3 separate regions of the Homo sapiens genome follow, and regions 2 and 3 are each linked to region 1. Evidence: promoter capture Hi-C in 16 types of primary human blood cells and fetal thymus (Javierre and others, 2016). All regions are on one chromosome and are shown on one strand. The core of a region is centred on a gene start or on the middle of the fragment in contact, and the rest is flanking DNA. Distances in the headings are between cores, read along the strand shown. Region 1 holds the start of STARD13 (StAR related lipid transfer domain containing 13). Region 2 has its middle 74 kb from the start of RFC3. Region 3 has its middle 93 kb from the start of RFC3.

Region 1 (4,925 bases), core at 1,510-4,009:
TGCTGGAAGCCAGGAGTTTGCCATCAGCTTAGGAAGCAAAGAGAGACCCCCATCTCTACAACTTTTTTTTTTTTAATTGGCCAGGTGTGATGGTGTGCACCTGGAGTCTCAGCTACTTGGGAGGCTGAGGCAAGAGAATCACTTGAGCCCAGGAGTTGGAGACTACAGTGAACTATGATTGCGCCACTGCAATCCAGCCTGGGAGACAGAGTGAGGCACCATCTTAAAAATAAATAAATAAATTCAATTCTTGCTCTTTATTGCTAAGATTATTTTAATGAAATATTATATGTAGTCATAAATACAAACTTATGATCTTAATGTTTTCAGAACCAGACACCCCAGCACTTTCAACACATTCATGACTATGCAAAAAGGAGACAATGTAAGTTTTATTGTCGTTGTTATTGTTTTATCTAGTAACCTCGCCTTGACACACTGCAATCCTTCTCAGGAAGAATCATTCCACTTGTTTTCATAATAGAATGCAGCCAAGTCAGCAATGAACTGCAAGGTTGGCATTGGAAATGGCCGGTCTATCTTTAAGTGCTCTCCAAAGCTATAAAAAGCTACGTATTTTTTCCTCACCTTTACCTTTTTACCTTTTCCTCACCTTTACTTGGTTTCCCAGAACATGTTCAATGTTCTCAAGTCCCATGCTCCCCTCTTCTTTCTCTCTCCACCCTCCTTCCATTCTCTTCCAGTAAAAAAGTGATAACCACCAAGTGTCTGCCTTGAACAAAAAGTTATGACACAGATGCTCCCAGTGTTGGACCATCAAGCCGAAAGCACGTGCACAAAGCAGCTGATGCAAGCACCTTAATTGGACGGCCACCGGTGCGGACTGAGCTGGGCTCATGAACCTTCCAGGCAGCCAACTTTGCAATATGGTGCTCGACCTTTCTCCATTCGAGCTTCTGCCGAGCAGTTCCTTAGGTCTCAGATCCCTTTCACCTTCCACAGACGATGCTATGGAACAGAAAAACTGCTGCTCAAATCCTAAATAAGAATGGAAAGTGCACAGTATGGCCCCATAGATCTTTCTTTCCCTTCCTGCCATGAAGCCAACCTGAAAACAAAGACATGATGACTCTTGTGTAACCACCCGAAGAGGCTGACAATTACCAACTACGTGAGGTAGTAGGCAATTGTCACATGCTGGGCTGCAGAGATCGTGCTTAACTTGTTTATTCTCATAGCGGGACAGTTATACAAGACGAGCTGCTTCTCAGAATCAGGCTAGCAACAATTCCCTCAGGGAAAGTTGTTAAGGCTTATGGGCCTCGGAGAGCCAGAGTAAGAAGAATCAAAGTCCTAATTTAAATCCTGTTAAACTTTTAATTTGGAAATAATGTAGAAATAATTTCTCATTATTAGACTATAAATTCCCAGCCAGGCTATGTTTCCGTCAGCCAAATGTAGAAGCAACTTGGTCATATACTTTTTGTATCAAAGAACTTTATTCTTTCAGCCCCAGGCTCAGAATTTGATAACATGTTTTCTGTGGACTTTTTCTCTTCACATCAAACAATGTTAAAGAAGAAAAACAGGGAAAATTATAATGACATATACATATATGTCACTCAGTGTGTGTATGTATATATATACACACATATATACACATATATATACACACATATATATATACACGTATATATATACACACACACTCAGATATGGCCAAACTGAATTACTAGCAGTTTGCTTAAACCATATACTCTGGTTCTGGATCTGCACACATGGGTACCTACAGTCTCTTGCAAAGCCCTCCCCAGCCTCTGCCTATCAGAATTCCCCCCATTTTAAAAAGCCTATCCAAATGTCTCTTTCTCTATCTGGCTTGCAATCATCACCCCAGTCAAAAATAATATTGCTCACCTAGCATTGTGTTTGCGTCCTTTTTGAGACATATATATGGCCTCATGTTAGAAGCTTTTGTATAACTTCTCAATGGGTCCTTAGCAGGTTGATGACAGTATCTTTGAAGTACCTTTGCAACTTCTGCAGTGATTCTTGTCTTAAATGATTCAGTGTCTTAAATGTGATAGGCACCTTCTAAGTATTTTACCTCTAGGTGATTAAAAATTGGGGAAGTAGAGAAATCAAAGAGGAAAGGATGCTTAATACGTAACGCGTGTGTACTTTGCCTCTCTGAGTCTTATCTGTAAGAGCCCTCCAATTCCCATCACGTGAGGGTCAGGATCTGTGGTGTATTCACTCCTGGTGTTAAAGCCCTTGAAGTTTATTTTTCACTGGAAAAGTTTTTATTTGAGTTGTTTCTTGATAATGAAGGTGGTGGCTTACGCTCAGCTGTTGATGCTTGTTTGAAGTAGTTTTTTTTTGTTGTGTTGTGTTTTTTAAATTTAAGAGATTTATCAGGTCCATCTTTTACCTGGCTGCTGCTGCCCTGTAGAAAGCGAAGGAGCTTTCTCTAACTTTGACAGGCTGAAAAGTTTCCTGAGCCCTGGACTTGTTTGTCTTCTACTTGTTTTGCCCTTCCCTCTCTCTTTTTCTTTCGACTCCTTTAGTGAGGGCTGCTTTTGGGTGCTTCGTCAGCTCTGAGGCACGTCAAATACGTGTATTTTGCTTTCAGCGTTGTGTGAGGGACCCTGGCGGCTGGAACTGCCTCTGGTCGGGGCTTAGGGCTGACTGCAAACGTTCCCATTTTCCTCTCTTCCTCTCATTGGTTCCCGAGGTCACGTGAGGGCCCCGGGGGTTGGAATTCTGAGTTGTGGCTTTGGCACTCCTCTTTCTTTTTAAAAATCGCTGGGTCTGTTGAGCTGTCCTGGGCTGGGTGCCTTGCTCTTTGACTGAGACTGGAGACAGACGGCAACAGCCACAGGCAGACTGAGGTGGCAATAGGAAATCTGCCGAGATGTTCAGTCAGGTGCCCAGGACCCCAGCCTCAGGCTGCTACTACCTAAATTCCATGACACCTGAGGGCCAGGAGATGTACTTGCGATTTGATCAGACTACAAGACGCTCTCCTTACAGGATGAGCCGGATTCTAGCACGCCATCAGCTAGTGACTAAAATTCAACAAGGTGAGTGGCCGGCAGTGGAAGGCTGTTGCTCATTCTGATTTCTGTTGGCTCTATTTCATGCTAACCCAGTTTTTTTTGTTTGTTTGTTTCCACTTTATAACATATGGATTTCTATGCCACACTACCCGTAACTTTGAAAAATAACTTTAGGCTGCAGTTTTCAGCAAACAGGACAGTCCTTAGCTGCCACATAGCTCAACATAAAGTGCACAAAAAACTTCACGGTGGGACAGTGAATCATAAATTCCCAAACTGACGTGTGTCTACAGAACAGATGAGAACTGTTACTCAGTGTGTATCTTAGGAGCTTTTCTGCAGTTTCCTCACACTCCGTCACATTTAAAATGTGGACACTTGTTTATTTCATTAGGGAGGAGGCGAGGGACTAATGTCCACCCTGCCCAGAGTATTTCGAATATCCTTAGTGAAGAGGAGGAAAGCAAGAATTCTGTTCTAAAGGCCACCAGGCTAAGCACTAGAATCGCATTCTCTTCCTGTTTGTATGTTTATGTCAGCAGTTGCCACAGATGTGTTAATATTGTTTTCCTGGTAGAGAATTAAGGTGTTCGTTCATCTCAAAACAAATCCCGTAACCTGCACACAAAACTCCAGCTTCCTAATGCAAAGAGAAGAGAATATTGATTATAAGCTGCTTGATATTCTTTTTATTCCCAGCCCCTCAAAATACCAGCCTGGAAGTCTGGACATTACTAAAATTTACCAGTCTCAAAAAAAAAAAAAATTTAAAACATGCTCCTTATAGGGTATATCAGTAGAAAGCAGAAAGACGAACATTCCTAAGAAGCCCCTAACACACACGTTTACAGTCAGTTAATGATCACCCTCCTCCTAGACTACAAAAAAGAAATTATTATATTGGTGCTAAATAAGTTAACCAGGAATTTTTAGAGCCGTTCCTAAGAAGCCCCTAACACACGTTGACAGTCAGTTAATGATCACCCTCCTCCTACACAACAAAAAAAGAAATTATTATATTGGTGCTAAATAAGTTAACCAGGAATTTTTAGAGCCATTATAAAAATACAGTTTCCACTTAAATAAATGAGTTTAAGATTATATTGAATATTAAAGAGGAAGTTGGGGTTTGTAATCATGAAAATCTTATTGTAATGTTTCCAGAAAGAACAATATGTATTCTAGCGGGCAGCATTTGATGAGATTGTTTCCTTGGAAATTAGGATTTGTTTGTAAAGGTTCAGGAACTAGTTATGTGTGAAGGATGCTGGTCCTTCCTACATGCTGGTCTGATTTCAGGAAGGATATTATGTCATTGCATAAACTCTGTGTCCAGGTCTTGATTGAATAGAAACAAAAGTAATTATTTCCCTGTGGCTAGATTTAAAAATACTTTAGGCTTAGAATAAAAACCAGCTCCACTTTGGTTTTAGAAATTTCTGACAATGGTGCCTTTCCAAATGCCATCATCTTTATGAACACCGAGGCTTAATGATGCGCTATCATCTACAAGATATAAATGTTCCTCAGCATGCATATCATATGAGAAATATTGCAGAGAACTAGCTGAAATTGCTTTGCAGACCTCCTTAGATGTATTTACAATAATTTATTTTATTTAAATATTATTTATGTTCTTTTTGGAATGAGGGTTATTTTTCCATTCAAGATTTGAAGTTGTGAACACATGCACTATCACTGAACGTGCCCTGTCACACAGACATATGGGCACCCTCAGTTTATGTTTCATTTTTGTCTAATTAGGTAATTTGAGAATTCCCTCTTTTTTATACTGGGCAATGGAGTGTTTGAAGTCAATGAATGCCTAACACTTAAAACTGACAGTTAAGATCACAGGGAAGCAATAAAGATTTCCAACAGTCTTGTGATTCAGAAATCATTATG
Region 2 (4,925 bases), core at 1,394-3,893, 460 kb before region 1:
GTTGGATATGAAGGTGGATGTGATGTGGTCACTGCCTCCAGGAAGCTTTAGCTTTAGCTAAAGGCATTAAGCCCCCAAGGATGAAGTAGTGGGGGTTTAAGCAGAAGCTGTTTTAAAGAGGGTGAGTGCAAAACGTGTGGTGAGCCACAGGACCATGTGTATTCAAATGTATGCCATGGGCTGCTGCTGCTGCTGCTGTTTCATATCACTTGGCACTGCTGAGAAGGCTGGCAGTGAGGCTGGTTAAATTTGTAATAAGTTGTTCATTTCTGCATAAAGGAAAAATGGAACAGCAATTTTTCTTTTCTAATGTTCAGTTACCACTGTCCTTTATGTGAAACGATAACAATGGACTCCCTCCCATCAGCATCTTTGAAACACTCTCCTCCTGTGGAGACGACTGGCCTGTGGTTGTGCAGCAGAGCAGACATGCTCATTTCTGTCGTCAGGTCACCATGTTCCCTGCAGGTGTGTGGCTCATCGTAATCCTCTATGCTTGCACTTAATGGGTTTTTTTTTGCAAGATTAAAAATGCAGGTGTAGCACACATCATTAATCCCCAATTTCAGTTAACTGAACTGTGTGTGTATTTATGCAGCTGCTGACTCCTGAGACACCCACTTGGAAAGAAGACAAAAGTTCTGAATGTACCTTTCTGTAATTCAGTAAACATACAGAGTACAAATTAAAAAAAAAAAATTAAGGATTTTTAATTCAACAGCCTTGCCAATGGGGGCACTGGCCACAAACACACTTGTTCATGAAAAGATCTATTTCAAGTATTCTCCTGGAAGCAAGAACCAGTATCTGGAATGTAGGCAGCATTTGTTCTTTAAACAAAATTAAAGTTTTACAGGAATGCAATGCTGTGTACTCATTAAAAAAAAATTACAAGTAGAAAAATCTGGAAAGAATCCATTTTGTGCTGTGTCTTTCCGACTGGAGGTTGTAAGTGGTAGCCCCTCCCCTGCCCTGGAGGACTTCCCTGCTCCACCCAGCTGCTCTAATCCCATATACTTCCTGCCTGGAATCCTCCTGAAGCTGCTTCCATCTTCTACCCCACTTCCTCTTGCTGAGCAGCATAGTAACTACCGTTCACATCACCTCCACTATGTTCATCATTCTGTGAAGTAAATAAAAGTGGAGGAAAGGCCCCACTACAGAAGATGAGGTGCAAAAAATGCCACCTCAGAATGTGGCATATTGACATACTGAGTGAAGCATGCTGAAGGAAATTGAGAAAACCTCAGAAGCAAGATAGTCTCTCTGACCTTCTCCCACCCCTTCTCCCCTACAGTGGGACATAGAAACTGAAATTCCTCTTGTCCCTCTCTCCCCTGAAGTGGGCCTTAAAACCTAGGAAGGTTACCTCTGACCTACTCCCACCCTCCTCCCCTGAAGATTTTCATGTGACAGGTGTCTTGTCCTATAGCTGGAGGGAAGGAATGTCACACAGAGAGGCCAAGAGGAATCTGAACAAGCAGGCCTTACCAAGTACCCCCCGCTTATTACCACTTGATCATATCCTTTTGCCTCCAGTCATACTTCTGCATGACTGTCCATAAAAATCCACACTTTTCCCTGGGTCTTTGAGTTTTCATTACTGAAGGTGCCTATGTCACTTAAAACTTGCATTAAATAAATGTGTTATGCTTTTCTCTTGCTAATCCGTATTTTGTTATGGGCCTCAGCCATGAACTGTGAGAGATAAAGAAAAGATACTAAGTTTTCTCCCCTACATAGATGAGGAAGTTGCAACTCAGCAAGAATCAGTGACTTTCCAAGGTCCCATCTTTTCTGAAGGATGCTCCAAGCACCCTGAGTGCACACGCAGGGAACTGGAAGGCCACAGCTCACTCTGCACCCAAACCTGCAGGAAGAAGTTTCTCTAGGAACCAGTCAGGGGCAAGTTGTAGGACTCTTAGCAATAACCTCTGCTGCAGGGTGGAAGAAGCTTCTGCCTGGAAGGCCAGGGGAATGAGGGAGGCTGAATGAGTTTGCCCTCTCCACCAACTCGCCCCACTCTGTCACCACAGCTCCAGTTGTCTCTTTCAGTTCTCATGAAGAGCTCCCAGTTACATGTTAGCTTATTCTCATTGTTTCTAAAGTCTGAGGTGACAGACAGGAAGTCTGTTGATTGTGAAAGATCAGATCCATAATCATCAAAACATACTTGCCCTGGCAATGTCAGTGTGCGAGAGCAGTACCATTCGTTCACATATCCTCCTTCTCTAAACCACCCTCTGTTTCACAATGAAGCCCCGAATTTTCCATATGGCTGGTCTGGACCCTGCATGAGTTCATCATTTCTTGTTTTACCCACTCAGCAAACATTTATGGAGCCATTACTCTGCTGGAGGCTGTTTACAAAGAGTCAAATAAAGCAACATCTCTTATCTCTCCCTTTCCCCCTTCTCTTCCCACTGAGAGCTCACAACATAACAGGTTCTCCAGCTTTCTTCTTCCTGGTTGAGCTGAGCCATTGCAAGCCCCAGGCATCCCAGGGCCTCACCTGGGACTCTACACACACTGATGAATGGGTGGAGGCCGAGTTCACTGTCAGTGTGGAGACTACTCTATGTGGGGCTGTAACACCTGCAAGGGAAAGGGATGGGGCGTCCTGAGTGAGTTACTGGGCTGAGCCACCTGGGAAGGCTAGAGGCTGGAGAGGAGCCATTTCAGCCTGGGTGGCTTGTGGCATTTGTGGGTAAAACTTGGGTGACCAGCAGTATGCAGAACAAATTGCAGAGAAGAGTCAGCCCTCAGATTTCTGATTTGTTAGCCTGCAAAAAGGTGGATAGCCACTCTCACCCCTCATATTTGTACCTGTAAAATCATTCAACCAGCTGGCTGGCTTCCACACTTGCTCCCTCTCAGTCTCTTTGCTACAGGGCAGCCAACATAGCCTAGAAATGCACCAAGCCCTTCTCAATACTTCCATGGGCTTCTCACCACAGTTAGAATAAAATCCAGCTTTAAACTGGACTACAAGGGCCTGAGTTACTTGGCCCTCAGCCTCCATCCTAACTCCTAACACTCCTCTGTCTCCCTCTCAGCCACTTTAGGTCCTTGCTGCCTTCAAGCACTCCCATCTCATTTTCTTTGTCCAGTTCCTCTTCCCTCTAGATGTTCTTGGTTGGATTTAGAACTCAATTCAGATCTCACCTCTTCAGAGGCTCTTTCTGACCACCACTGTTTAAGATAACACTCCCTGCCTCCCTTTTCCTCTTCCCCTGCTTTTCAAAAATATATTTCATAGAATTTATCTCTACCTGATTCTATTCTATACCCATTTATTGTTTGTCTATCATACCCACTAGAATGTAAGCTTCATGAGGGCAGGGGTCTAATCCTAATCACTGTTCTCTCTTCAATGCCCAGGATAGTGCTCTCACAAAGCAGGGGATTGATAAACATACGTTGAATAACTGTGTGAATTAACTAACTTGGAAATGCTGTCAGGCTATATTAAAAAGCGTAAGTCCACTAACAGATTTGGATTTACACATGTGATCAATTACAGAACAATCCAATGAGCACACGTGCTGAGCTAATCCAGCCACTGATTTTACTTTATCTCCAACTAACCAATTTAATGAGATTGTCTTAGTCTGCATGTGTTTCTATAAAGGAATACCTGAGGCTGGGTAATTTGCAAAGAAAAGGGATTTATTTGCCTCATGGTTCTGCAGGCTGTACAAGAAGCATGGCGCCAGCATCTGCATCTGGTGGGGGCCTCAGACTGCCTCCACTTATGGTGGGAAGTGAGTGCAGAGATCACCTGGTGAGAGAGGAAGCACAGGGACAGGAAGAAGGTAGTCTCTTTTTAATAACAAGCTCTCATGGGAACTAATAGAGCCGAAACTTACTCATTACCTTGAAGATGGCACCAAGCCATTCATGAGGGATCTGACCCTGTGACGCAAAAACTTCCCATTAGGCCTCACCTCCAACATTGAGGATTATATTTCAATCTGAGGTTTGAAGGGTCAAATATCCAAACTATAGCATTAACTAAAACAATACTAGGAAATTAATTGATTAAGTTTTTGATAAGTACTAAAAAAGATGGCTTACCATGTGCCATGAAATTAATTAATGGCAACTCAATGTGTTGTGGGATGCCAGAATGGCTTCCCTGAGGAAGTGACATCTAAGCCAAAGTCAAAAGGGTGAGAAGGAGTTATCCAACTTAGGAAGAAGAGATGAGTCTTCCTGGAGGTGAGCAGCACATGCAAGGGCCCTGGGGTGGCTTTCAGTTTAGTTTATTGGAGAAAGTGAGAGAAGAATCTGTGTGGCTAGGTGAAGAGAAGGAGTAAGACAGGAAATGAAGCTGACAAAGCTGGGAGGACCCACACAAGCCTCACACAAGCCCACTAAGAGATGTAAGAAAGGTGACGTGATCAGATTTGCTTTTTTAAACATCTGTTTTTATGTAGCATGGAGGAGAGACTGGAATACGGCAAAACTGGAAACAGGAAGGCCAATTAGGAGGCTATTGAAGTAATTAAGACAAGATATCATGACAGTTTGGACTACTGAAGTGATGCCATAGATGGAGAAACACAGTAGATTCCAAAAGTGATTCAGAGATAAAATAGGCTGTGTTGGTGACCAGACCTGAGAGAGCAGGGAAGAAGGAGGTATCAGGAATGGTTCCTATCTGTTATGAGTTGAATTATATGCCCTTTCCAAATTCATGTGTTGGGGTTCTAACCCACATCAAAATGTGACCTTATTTGGAAACAAGGTTGTTGCAGATGTAATTAGTGAAACCAAGATGAGATTATCCTGGAGTATGGGGGGCTCCTAACCTGGTATGGCAGGTACTCTTATGAAGGGGAAATCAGAGCACAGACATGCACATAGGGAGAACACCCCCTGACACATGAAGGTGAAAGCAGAGATAGGAGTGATATTTGCAA
Region 3 (4,925 bases), core at 907-3,406, 440 kb before region 1:
CGGATGGTTTACAGAATTAGAGATTTCAGGCAATGGAAAATCATACTATAAAACTTAGTAAGACAGAGGATAACATTGTTTCTGTTAGAAGTCTGCTATGTTCTAAAAACTTGCAAATGGCAAACTTACTGCTGTGTCCTCATGGAACCTTTTATATGTATATTCTCATTTACTCCTCAGGTCAACTGTTTAAGATGGGGACTATTAATCATATATTTTCAAGGGAAGAGCCAGGTCTCAGAGAAGTGAAATAACTTAGACTATGGAGCTAGTGTGAAAAGCTCTAATGGAAACACATAATGGCTTAACAGGGGTGATTATATTGACTTTAATTCCTTTCTGTCATTTTGTCTTCTTGTTTATCACATATATAACACTTCAGCGTATAAATAAGAAAAAAAAACCTAGTTCTGAAAATTGCCTCTAAAAGCATAATGTTGAAGATTTGGGAAAATAAAACATAGTAGTTAACGTAAAATAGGCACTTGGAAGCAAGAGGTTGCAATTCTAACTCTAAAACGTTTTTCCTATGTGACACTGTCAGAACCAAGTTAGGACAGGGCTGTGTTATTACATCCATTTTGTGGTTATCCAACTTCGGTGATTTTTTTTTTTTTTTTTGACAGAGTCTCGCTCTGTCACCCAGGCTGGAACGCAGTGGTGCAATCTCAGCTCACTGCAACCTCCACCTCCCAGGTTCAAGTTATGTTACCATCTATTAGGGACTAAATTGTGTCCCCTCTAAAATTCCATGTGTTGAAGCACTAACCCTAGGGTGACCATATATGGACATAAGCTTTTCAAAGTAATTAAGGTTAAATGAAATCATAAGGGTGGGGTCCTAATCTGATAAGACTGGTGCCCTTATAAGAAGAAGAGACACCAGCGTTCTCTCTGTCTCTCCATGCTTACAGAAAAAAGACCATGTAAGGACATAGCAAGATGGTGACCATTTGCAACCAGAAACCAACCCTACTGGCACCTGGATGTTGGATTTCTATCCTCCAGAACCTGTAGAAAATAAACTTCTGTCCTGTTCTTTTCTTTCTTTCTTTCTTTCTTTCTTTCTTTCTTTCTTTCTTTTTTTTTTAGAGACAGGGTCTCACTCTGTCACCAGGCTGAAGTGCAATGGCGCGACCTTGGTTCACTGCAATCTCCACCTCCCGAGTTTAAGCGATTCTCCTGCCTCAGCCTCCCAAGTAGCTGGGATTACAGGTGTAAGCCACCACGCCTGGCTAATTTTTTTGTATTATTAGTAGACACAGGGTTTCACCATGTCGGCCAGGCTGGTCTCGAACTCCTGACCTCAGGTGATCCACCTGCCTTGACCTCCCAAATTACTGGGATTACAGGTGTGAGCCACCTTGCCCGGCCTAAACTTTTGTTCTTTAAGCCTCCCAGTCTGGGGTATTTTGCTGTGGCAGCCCAAGCAGACTAATACACAACCCAATTAATAAACACTAATAGTGTCTAAAATTATTCCACCATTCTAGAAAATTATTATTTTTTCATTATCCACAGTCATTGCTTTGTCCTGTGACAAAAAAGCCATGTAGCTGGAAGCCATCTGGGTGGCAGTACAGAATTAAGAGCCACTAGAAATTAAGTCCATACTCTCCCTGGAACTCAAATTCTACCAAAAAATAAATTTTAAGTGAAAGTCTAATGGAAGGAAGAAGAACATTTGGAGCAAGTGTGAAATCAACATTCTGCTCCAGGTAGGCACCATTTGATGGGGAGTGATCCTGAGTGCAGGGTTGGGGAACGGGGTGGAACTTTCCTTTGTGCACAGAACTGGGACTAGAAAACAGTGATTAGGAAAGCAGTCAAGTGACTGATAAGTACACAAATGGAATAGCCCTTGGGAGTTTTTGAGATTGCGTTTGTTTGAAGAAAAGAAGAGCATTTTCTTCATATTGATATGACATTGTATTTGCCAACTGGTATTTACTAGAAGCCCTCCAAGTTCATGATTCACACCTGAACATTCCACATTCTTTAAAATTGTAGTGCACCCTTCATAACTATATATTTAGTATTTTTATAAATTAGATTACAATTTAATTGGAGAATACAATATCAGAAAAATTATCCAAAACTTAGAAATATTGCCTAATCAAATGTGCTACTTGTCTGGCCTTCCACAAGAAAGCACATGAGGAACTAAGACATAATTTTTCCTTCTTATTTGTAAAGTCTAATTCAAAGTTATTAGCTCAGCACAGTAAATATACGTGCTAAAGACTGGGTGAACAATGGCAAATAAACTTTGAAGACCAAATCCTCTTTTACAACTAAAAGTAACATTACTGAGCTTTCTGCAGGATTTTCTGGGTAAGTTTTTCTGCATGGCCAGCCCCAGCAAGGCCCCGAATGCCTGGTTTGCTACTTTCTAATCCTGTAACTTCTCTTCCCATAATAATGTGTAGCTTGTAAGGCCTTAGCTCAATTTTCCAGATGATTTCAGAGACAAAGAATTGCTGATTTGTTACACTAATCTTGACATTTCAAATTACAACTGGAAATAATCTTCCTTAATTAGTCATGTTCTTTCTGTTGAAAATATCAGACATTTGACATATTTGTTTAGCAAATATGTCGATTTTCTGGTCTTTATGGTCTTTCAGTCCCATGTTGATATTCACATATTAAATTTTTAGCTTGCTCCACAGCAAAGATGCAAATATATATGTGCATATGTATATTATATATGTACACATATAGTATATGAATCTACAACCATGCTTGGGGAATACAAGGTATAATATGAATATTATATATATATTCATATATATCTATATATATTTATATATGTGAATCTACAACTATACTTGGGGAAAACAAAGACTTTATCCAGGCTCACCCAGAATGGTTATGAGAAAGTGAAACATTCTTTTCTTCCCTTAATAGGCAAATACATAGTTTAAAAGCTACCTCCCCAAATATGGGAGAATCTTTAGAGAAAGTGTTAAATCACAATAGCATTAAATGTACATTTACTATCAAGTCTTTTGCAATAAAAGCTGACATTAACTTTTTCTCTACAATATTTACTATAGCACTGTGCTTACCCAGGCTTTTATTAATATATGTTTATTTCTGCATTTCCATTTCTCAGCTACCTTTTATATTTTAAAAATTACAGAATTTATAGAAGAAAATTGTAGGCTGATAACAAACAAAAAGGTTTTTCGAAATGGCTAGCATTTGCTCCCAGCAGGGAAAGTAAAGGAATAGTTGCTGTATCCTGAGCCACCCATCCCGGCCCAAGTCTTTGTCCTGCTGAAGTGGTAAATTCTCCCAGAAACGCAACACAAGGTGGTGCTGTTGTATTTATCCTAAACCAGCTGCCAGCCTGGCCACTTAGGCTGTCGGTTTGATCTGAAAGTGGTAGGTGTGTACCAAAGGCATGGGTTTTGCATATGTAGATGTTTACAGTGTAGTCCTCCTTTCAGATAAGAAAAGATAAATAGAAGAAGGAGGAAGAGAGTAAGTTTCTCCACACATGGAAGCTTCTGGAGAAACTGTCTTAAAAAAAAAGAAAGTGCATGGGTTCCTTTTGTTACTAAATTATAGGAGCATGGAAAGTTAGGGCTAGAAGAGATAAAACATTATCTAGCCCATCTTCCTATCTTCAGAGAGGATTTCATTTATAAATTATCAGCCAGTTAAACTTTTTCTTTTGGTTTTAAAATTTTCCAGGGAGGGAGATGCCACTTGCTCCCCCAGCAAATCAATACTCCCTAGTGTTGGGAAATTGTTGTGGACATATGTGCACTTCCTCTTGTTCTGAATCCAGAGGGTATGGGAAGGATTTGATCAGCAGATGTGCCTAGTGAATGAGAAGCACACAAAAAAAAAATGAATTACAAGTCAGGGCTCTGGATTCCTCTCCCTCACTTGCTTAGCTGGGACAAGGTGGGCCTCAGATTTTGCATCTGGAAAACAAAGAGATTGGACTAACATCAGTGGGTTTCCACAAATGGCTGGATCTCAAAATCACCGGGGAAGCTTTTTAAAAAAATACAGATTCCAGGGCCTTGCCTATAAATTTGCTCAGTCAGAAAATCTAGGGCAGGGCCCAGAAATTGCACTTAAAAAAAAATCCAAAAGAACTGTTTTCCTTGGAAAACATTTTTCTTGTCTGAAGACATGGAAATTAGCTAAAAATGTGTAGGCAGGCAGCCCAGCACAGATCTAATGACTGGTGCATAGGTACCACTAGATTAAATAACTCTTAAATCCCATCTGATTTTATGATTTTCCAGGTATCCTTAAAACAAAAGCCCTTGAAAAATAGAAGTGAATTATCCCAGATCTAAAGAATTTCCTCTTGAATCATATTCCCAAGCCTTTGAGTAATCTGCAGTATGGATTTACAGCAAGATGTTTTCTAAATTTTTCAAGCACATGAAATTGGGAAGTCCAGGAATATTATTATAGTAAAGAAAATCCAATAAAGTCCTTGTGTTCAGTCCAATGCCTACACGCTATTCTATTTTCTGGTTACTGTAACTATGAATTAGTTGACAGTTATGAAAATAGTATTTGGACTCTTTCACTTTCATTTTTATAAAACTGGAAAGTTAAAAAACTAGTCAAGTACTTGGCCCATGTATAAATAGATAAGTCACATACTGGCAAATTGAGCTGTATAAAAGTTACTTACACAGACAAAAATGTCTCTAAAGTCTCTATGTAAAACGTTGGCTTTCTGACTCTGAGACTGTCTAGTATCAATGTGAAATTCAGTAACAATGCAATTCAGATTCTTATACCTCAAATGTCTCATTTGAAAGAATCAGATAATTGAAGTATCATTTGTTTATTCTCGTTTATAGTATCAAGGTAAATAATTCTGCCTTCCATTTCCCCTTGCTAATGTAATGTGACCTCAATGTTACATGTTACTAAGTAAATCAATT

The links. Contacts are between HindIII fragments. The CHiCAGO score rates a contact against its expected background, and 5 or more counts as called.
Region 2: a contact is called between a fragment that was not itself captured here and the fragment with the promoter of STARD13 in region 1, in 2 of 17 cell types (activated CD4 T cells and non-activated CD4 T cells). The highest score is 5.8, in activated CD4 T cells.
Region 3: a fragment that was not itself captured here is called in contact with the fragment with the promoter of STARD13 in region 1 in 5 of 17 cell types (endothelial precursors, M1 macrophages, M2 macrophages and 2 more); the score reaches 11.1 in endothelial precursors.

What each region holds. Positions count from the first base shown.
Region 1 is chr13:33,283,589-33,288,513 of GRCh38, reverse strand. STARD13 (StAR related lipid transfer domain containing 13) reads left to right here and starts at 2,759. Exons shown (of 14, transcript NM_178006.4): 1 at 2,759-3,044. The coding sequence starts at 2,876. RefSeq lists enhancers at 2,457-2,586, 2,597-2,656. The HindIII fragment of the contact is 3,531 bases long and covers 1,935-4,925 here.
Region 2 is chr13:33,741,331-33,746,255 of GRCh38, reverse strand. No RefSeq gene overlaps it. Among named protein-coding and RNA genes, the nearest start is that of RFC3, 74 kb to the left of the region's middle. The HindIII fragment of the contact is 1,374 bases long and covers 1,957-3,330 here.
Region 3 is chr13:33,722,421-33,727,345 of GRCh38, reverse strand. No RefSeq gene overlaps it. Among named protein-coding and RNA genes, the nearest start is that of RFC3, 93 kb to the left of the region's middle. RefSeq lists a silencer at 3,232-3,401. The HindIII fragment of the contact is 2,716 bases long and covers 799-3,514 here.